Regions from separate parts of the Homo sapiens genome. Here region 1 is linked to region 2. The links are contacts of gene promoters, found by promoter capture Hi-C in blood cells and fetal thymus (Javierre and others, 2016). All regions are on one chromosome and are shown on one strand. The core of a region is centred on a gene start or on the middle of the fragment in contact, and the rest is flanking DNA. Distances in the headings are between cores, read along the strand shown.

Region 1 (3,716 bases), core at 1,182-3,681, 390 kb before region 2:
GTTATCAAAACCTAGAAGTTCTGTCTTTTCCATCACCTTCTCTACCCCTGGAGGTCTTTCCAATTTCCCTTCATTATTATTTCTCCAGCCTGCTCTGCTTTTCCTCGTCTACTCCTACTGCTTCAGTCCAAACCCTCACTCGCACCTAGACAACTCAGAAGCCTCCAAAATCATCTCTAGTCTCAAGTCTTGTCCCTTTTAAATCTGTCTCCCACACTGTGGTTTGGGCACTCACCTTTAAATGGAAATTTGTCTGGCTTAGCCCCTTTTAGTGCCTTGCCATTGCCCACATAAGAAATCCAAGGCCAGGCGCAGTGGCTCACGCCTGTAATCCCAGCACTTTGGGAGGCTGAGGAGAATCATTTGAGGTGAGGAGTTCAAGAACAGCCTGGCCAACATGGAGAAACCCCGTCTCTACTAAAAATACAAAATTAGCTGGGCGTGGTGGCATGTACCTGTAATCCCAGCTACTCGGGAGACTGAGTCAGGAGAATCACTTGAACCTTGGAGGCAGAGGTTGCAGTGAGCCAAGATCGCACACCATCGCACTCCAGCCTGGGCAACAAGAGTGAAACTCCATCTCAAAAAAAAAAAAAAAAATCCAAGTATGCTACCAGCACACACAGGGTCCTCCCTCTCCAGTCTGCCATTGCCAGCTGTGCCTTGCACGTCATGATCCAGCAACACCGAACTGCCCATAGTCCCCACACTCACTGTGCCATTTCTGAACACCTTACAATTTTTTATCCTCCCTCTCTGGCCAAATCCTATTTTGACAACAAAAATATCATTTTCCTCAGGACACCCTTCCGAATTCTATAGACCACATGAGGTTCCCCTCTGCATTTCCATGATGCTTTTTGTTAATGAACTTTTAAGAGTTCCTTTTGCTGGGTGCAGTGTCTCACGCCTGTAATCCCAGCACTTTGGGAGGCTGAGGTAGGCGGATCATAAGGTCAGCAGATCAAGACCAGCCTGACCAACATGGTGAAAGCCCGTCTCTACTAAAAATACAAAAATTAGCCAGGTGTGGTGGTGCGTGCCTGTAATCCCAGCTACTCAGGAGGCTGAGACAGGAGAATCGCTTGAATCCAGGAGGCGGAGGTTGTAGTGGGCCGAGATCGCGCCACTGCACTCCAGCCTGGGCGACAGAGCGAGACTCTGTCTCAAAAAACAAAAACAAACAAAAAAAGAGTTCCTATTATGTTTCATCTGAATGAATTAGACTTAGTACACAGTTGATTTTCTCCACATCTGATGACTAGCTGACACTGAACATCAGTAAGCTAGCCTTCCGACATGAGAACTTCATGTGCATTCGGTAACTCCGCATTTCATGTGATCATTACCTGCATTACTCACATGAAATCTCACTGACCTGGATTGTAACAACCTTTCCACATGTCTTCCTCAGCAGTCCCTCAGTCCCTCGAGAGTGGTAAATATGTCTAATTGATTTACATATTCTAATATCTGACAGTGTGACTGTTTCAAAACAGTTGCTCCATAATTGTTGAATTAATGAAATACTAACTCTCCTCCATTTCAGCGTAGTATCCTTCTGTCTTTATGACAAGGATTGCTAATTTCAAGCTTTTAGCCCAGTTGTTTGGTAGTCAAGGAATATATAAAACTGTTTCCTCATGGAACAAAAATAGTAATATCCACAAAACCCCATTTTTCCATCCACCTCCTGTATATAAATAAACCTAAGATCATTAAAAGGGATGTCATGACTTGAGAGGTCTCCACCTGAAACTGGGACTTGACTTTGGTTTTATTGGCTCTGCTAGGCTGTGGGCTGAATATAAAACCATGCCTAGTCCTTTGAATACACTTATTATTTCTTTACAAATGCAATTTGTAGTGGACTTCCTGAAAATGTTTCAGAACAGGATATAGCATCTTATTTTTTTTAACTTTTTCTTTAAAATATTCAAGGAAATCTAAAAAGCAGAGAGAGAAAACTCAGCGCAGCTCTGGCAGCAAAGATCAGAACCATCAGAGGCCAGCGTTAGGGAAGGTTATGGTAAGAGGCAGCACTTGCAGTCAAAGTCAGATTCTTCATCAGACGCAGTGCAACGCCGACCCAAGCAGCTCCTGGCTGGCACGGGGCCATGCTCCAGGCTGGGTCTTCTCCAGTCCTTTCGTTCACACCTGCACTTGTACGTTTTGCTTCAGTTTATTACTCTGTCTTTCCTTTGCACCTAAACAAAACAACTACTTTCCCCACCCGCCCCCGCCCCCCTCAACCCCGAGTAAGTTTGGACCATTCTCTCAGACATTTCTTGGTATGTAGAAATTTCTGCCTGGAATAAAGTTACTTGAATGACGACGTTAACCCTTCTTGGATTTGCCCTTGGATCGTAATTCAAGGACCCTGTGCCCCTCACTAAGTCTCAGATGCATCTCTCTTGTTTAGATAATTATTGTACATCTTCTTCTGGGTCTTCAGGCCTGGCATTCTTCTTGACATTCTGACGTCTGCAAATCTATCTCATTCACTCCCTTATGTTATCGACTGCAACTTTCTTCAGAGCACTGGCTTTTTGATGCCCGAGTCAATTAGATCAGGATAATTTGTGAGATAAATGGAAAATTCCTACACGTGCTCTTGTGTCAATATTTTCTCTCCATGAAAAATCACACTTTGCTCCTTAGCCGCTTGGGTTGTTACCTTAGCACAGTATGACTGAGTCAGGAGAGCATATTTCTGTTTTTCACTGATTCAAATCTAAGCTGAGGAGCTACCCGCTAGGCTGGCACCTTCCCTCACTACCTACCTGGGCCTTCCCCTGCATTTGGTGGGTGCACTCCTGAGCGGCTTGCTGAGTCAGAACTAGTTGGAAGATGACTAGGACTTCCAACAAGGTTGCTGACAAGTTTCTCTTCTAATACATGTGAGCAATTTCCTGGCCTGCTTTTTTTTGCTGCCTCTCCACTAGATGTTCTTTGAAAGCATGGTAACCAGTCATGGAAAGGTTTTCTGACATACAGGAGACCAAACGTTGGCTAGCTAATTCTTAGGCTGAAATTATTACTGTAATTTGAAATAATAATTATAAAAACATGCAGGATGTGAATCTTTAATAATCCAACCAAATTCAGAGACCGAAACATGTTACCAGGCAGCTTGTAAAAATGTTCCTGGTACAGTATGCTGTTGCATTCTGGATAGCGTCTCTTACCCCTCTGAGCAGTGCAATCACCCTGTAATAATTCTCCACCTTTTACACTCTTCTGCCTGGAAGGTGGCATAGTGGTGTAAATAAGCTTTCTGAATTTAAACAACAACAACCCTGATTTGCGGCATTTGCTGACTTTTGTTGTGTAAAGATTCCTGCCATAGCTGATTTCAAGCTATAAACAGTTTAGCAGCTTCCTCATAGAATTGCTGTGCATTTAACAATTGGTGCTCTGAGCCCCCAGGAGCTGCCTCCAGGATAACCCTGGGTGTGGAGCCCAACCTGAGACACCCATCGCCTCTCTTACGCCCAACTGAGGGTTTGCCAAGGTCCATGTGAGAGGTGAGGCCAGCTGGACTTCCTGGGTCCAGTGGGGACTTGGGGAACTTTCCTGTCTTACAAGAGGATTGTAAAACGCACCAATCAGCACTCTGTAAAACACTAATCAGTGCTCTGTAAAACACACCAATTGGCGCTCTGTCAAATGCACGAATCAGCAGGATTCTAAACGTAGCCAATTGTGGGGAGGAT
Region 2 (3,813 bases), core at 504-3,003:
GCCAAATTCAAGGTCGCTGCAAAAGGAATGGAGAAGAGAGAATAGATTTGGCATTTGGAGGAAATGGTGACAATCATGAGCACCTACCCGGGACTCTCCATGGGTGCTATCTCTACATAAACTCATTCCACCCTCTGATTAATCCATTCTACATATGGGGAAACAAAGGCATGCGGTGTTTACGTCACTTGCCAAGATCTCAGGATTTGATCCAGGTGGCCTGGTTCCATGGTGCAGCCTCTCAGCCTGCATGGATGCCCCAGCTCAGAGCATGACTCTCAGGACAGGGGTCCCAGCAGCCCTCCCTCCCTGAGCAGCAGGGTGCCCGTGCTGCACCACTTCTGTCTAGGAATAGGACATTCTGACACTTTCCTGCCTCTTCCGAGGTCTAGCACTTACTCTATGCCTGCCTGGGAAGGTGGCAAGCTGGCCTGAGGAACAGACTCTTCCATTTTTTAGGGAGCTCAAGGCCACAGATGCTCTGAGATCTGGAGTCCAGAGACAGGAGCGGAGGCTTCTCCTGGTGACCACTCTGCTTAAAAACTTCATCAGATCCGTAGTTTCAGAGCCCCCCTGAACCCCATCCCTTACCTCTACCAGTTGCAGGTGGGTCTCTGGGGTGGGGCTGCCCTCCCCACCAGCACCCCAAGGGCTAAAAGGTTGAGGGGAGAACACCATCATTTGTACAGGGGGATCCTGGAAGATGAGGCCTGAGAAAGCCCTGCGGGGCCCCTCACCTTCTCCCTAGCTGTGGCCAAGAGTGTCTGGCCTTGCCTGCCTCAGGACCAGCCCAAAGTGGAGGTGAGAGGTGAGCCCCAGCCCCCAGGGGAAGGGTGATGGTGGTCTTGGTCTCAGCATGGTTCTGGTAGAGGTGGGTTATTTTGAAGATGATGAACCTTAAGCCTCTTTCTGATCTTGCTTTAAATAAATACTTCTGAACAACAGCAACAACAGAATAGTGTTGATAGGAAAGCCCTCCACTCCACCAGAACCACGCGGCCTTCTCGTCCTCCCCTCCTCCACTTCCTTCCTAAGTCACTGCTCCATGAGCTCTTCCACAGGAGATTTACAAAATAGAACACAAACAATCCAGTTCCCGCCTCTCACTCTGAACTCCTCCCAAGACTCGTGGGGTGCGGCAGCCCCTGGGAACACCCAGCCCTTCAAGGTCAAACACAGCCCCCGCCCCTCACTCTGGGGTACCCTGCCAGAATAAGCCCCGACAGCCATGTGGAGCAGAGCCTTCTTTTTTGTAAGTGGAAGTTCCAGGCTGGCTTTTCAAATCCCCTTTTAACCTCAGTGCTGTATTTCAAAATTCATTCCAGTTTTCCTGTAGTAATTAACAAAAATAAATATTTTAATTTCAATTAAAGTGAGGGTCTCGGAGAAGAAGCAGGAACTGAGTTTCCTGAGAGGCCCCGCTGAGGCTTTGTTGATATTTCTTCCTGCGACCTCTGCTCGGACCCTGGGAGCTCACAGGCCGTATCGCAGCTCTTATCTTTGGGGACCAGTTAAAGCATAACTGCGCCAGGCACAGAGTTGTCCTTTCAAATGTGCCGGCAGTGGGACGGAGACCCATGCGTCAAGTCTCCTCTAAGTTCACATGGGATTCTCTCCTTGTCCCAAAGCTGTCTCTGACTTAAAACCCTCCAACTGATTACCTGAATTCCAGAATATGTCCTGTGCTCTCTGCCCTTTCCCACGCCTTTGGTGAAGACCGGTGTTCTGAGGAAACAGACACTGTGTAGAAATGGCTCAGGTCCTTTAAAGCCCTGGTGTGAGGAGTGGGGAAGGGCTGGGCCAGAGGTCAGCTGGATTTGTTAGATTGACAGAGTGACGCGGACTTCCCCAGAGGCACGGGACCAAGGTGCATGCTCACGCTGTCTCATGCTCTCACACATAATGTGTGTGTGTGTGTGTGTGTATATATATATACACATATACATATATATATATACACACATATGCATATATATAAAACCCCAAGCAGCCTCTGGCTTAGCAGGTGCATTTCCCAGCAGGGCAATTAAAGCCATGGTCCCAGTAGTGGTCTTGGGGTCTCAGGGTATTTGGTCTGTGCAGCCACATGCTTCAGTCTCTGGACCCCAGGTCATCTAACGAGGTGGTCGTGTGGGGACTGGGATAGAAAAGGTGTCTGCACGGACGTGTGTGAAAGGGCTGGCACATCGCCAGTGCTCAGCACTGTCAGCTGCTATCACCAGTCATTCAATCATTCATTCATTCAGTTGTTCATTCTTCAACAGGCCGTTTTAAAAATGTGCCCAGTATACCAAAATCTCCGCTAAGCATTTAAAGAGGCAGAATGAAAGTTAGCAGTGGTGGTGAAACGAAGCTGGGAATGTGCTCTGAGGGCCTCCTTGTGGGCTTAATGAATATGTAGAAACCACGCATTTTAAATAGAGAGGGAGAAAGGGAGAGGTTCCTGGTCCTCTGCATGGGGACTTGTGTGTGGCTCTTTACTGTAGGCCTGTGCCACTCCTGCTCAACAGCTACCACAGAGGACGCCTTCAACAAATGTGAAGAACGAACAAAAGGTACAAATGTGAAGAACGAACAGGGTAGAAAGAAAGGAGAAAGCAAGGGTGAGGGTGAGAAATCAAGGGACAGAGAAGAGAGAAGAGGAGATAGCCTGGGAGTTCACACAGCCAAGAAGGTAGACACTCAGTTGAACCAGCAAGAGGCTGAGCCTAACTCTCCCTTTCGAATGGGCAGGAGTTCATGATATTTAATAAACAGAGGCCTTGCTCTGTAAGAGACAGGGTACCAGGCAGAGAGCAAGTCAGCATCGCAGGAGTCAAACGAGGCAGACAGCGGGGGCAGGGAGCTTGCCTCTGAAGGAGACCCAGGCTGCCAGAGTAGCAGGGAGTCTGGGCCAGTCCTCTTTTGGGAAGCGCTTCCTCGGCTTCTGCCCCCCCTCTCCTCTCCCTTTCCACCCACCATCCTGACATAATACTTCCTAATCTGGAAGTGTTGTCCAGAGAAGAACCTGCTCATTTCCTCTTAAGTAGGCAGGGAAGCACTAACGTCCAGCAGCATCGGAAACCCGTAGGAGCGCTCTCGGCAGTGCAGGGTGAGGGGACAGTCCATGTAGTCATGAGACGTGGGTGTCAGGCAAGCGTCTCTTTTCCAAAAGAGAAAAACATTAAAGGCCTCACAAACGGCGCCCAAAGACTAATTCTGCATAGCATCTTTGCGAGACCCTAGGTTCTTATGATGACTGGTTTTGCCTGAGAAAGAAAAAATTTTAATTTTGCTCTGACATGCCAATTCAACAAATCATTTTCACATAATATTCATGCAAAAAAAAAACAATTTGCCAGAAAACTTGGGAATCCATCCACATCTACAGCTTTTCCCTGCAGTCACACTACAGTGGGATCCCTCCATACAGGAGCGGCAGAGTGGAGCAGGCTAGAGATGCCTGTTTGTTTCTGTTTGCTGCACCGCAGCAAGCATTTCTGTCGTGCCCACTCTGTACTAGAAAGTACATGAACATCAGCCATAAAGGGAACTAGAAAGGTGGCCCACCCTCTTGGTGGAGAGAGAAGAGAGTGTGGTAGAAACAATAATAAGAAGTCTGCAGAACTTGACCCCTCCCAGCCTCTCCCACCTGCCAGCCTGGCCCTTGCAGAGAGATGCAGGCTGCCATTCTTAGGCCAAAGCCTGGGACAGTTGGGCTCAGCAAGGTAGGCATCCGTCAAGCAAGGAGGAGCAGGGGTCAGCAGTGACCCCAGCAGCCAGCAGGGAGAAAGGTGCATGTGACAAGGACACCAGAGGCCGTGGGTCAGGATC

Evidence for each region. The method cuts DNA at HindIII sites, captures the fragments that hold promoters and counts their contacts. A CHiCAGO score of 5 or more calls a contact.
Region 1: a fragment that was not itself captured here is called in contact with the fragment with the promoter of EGFR-AS1 in region 2 in 2 of 17 cell types (endothelial precursors and activated CD4 T cells); the score reaches 8.1 in endothelial precursors.

Annotation. Positions count from the first base shown.
Region 1 is chr7:54,800,213-54,803,928 of GRCh38, forward strand. All of the region lies in intron 2 of SEC61G-DT (SEC61G divergent transcript), which reads left to right. Among named protein-coding and RNA genes, the nearest start is that of SEC61G-DT, 43 kb to the left of the region's middle. The HindIII fragment of the contact is 1,680 bases long and covers 1,592-3,271 here.
Region 2 is chr7:55,187,196-55,191,008 of GRCh38, forward strand. EGFR-AS1 (EGFR antisense RNA 1) reads right to left here and starts at 1,754. Exons shown (of 2, transcript NR_047551.1): 1 at 1,662-1,754. All of the region lies in intron 20 of EGFR (epidermal growth factor receptor), which reads left to right. The HindIII fragment of the contact is 13,947 bases long and covers 1-3,813 here.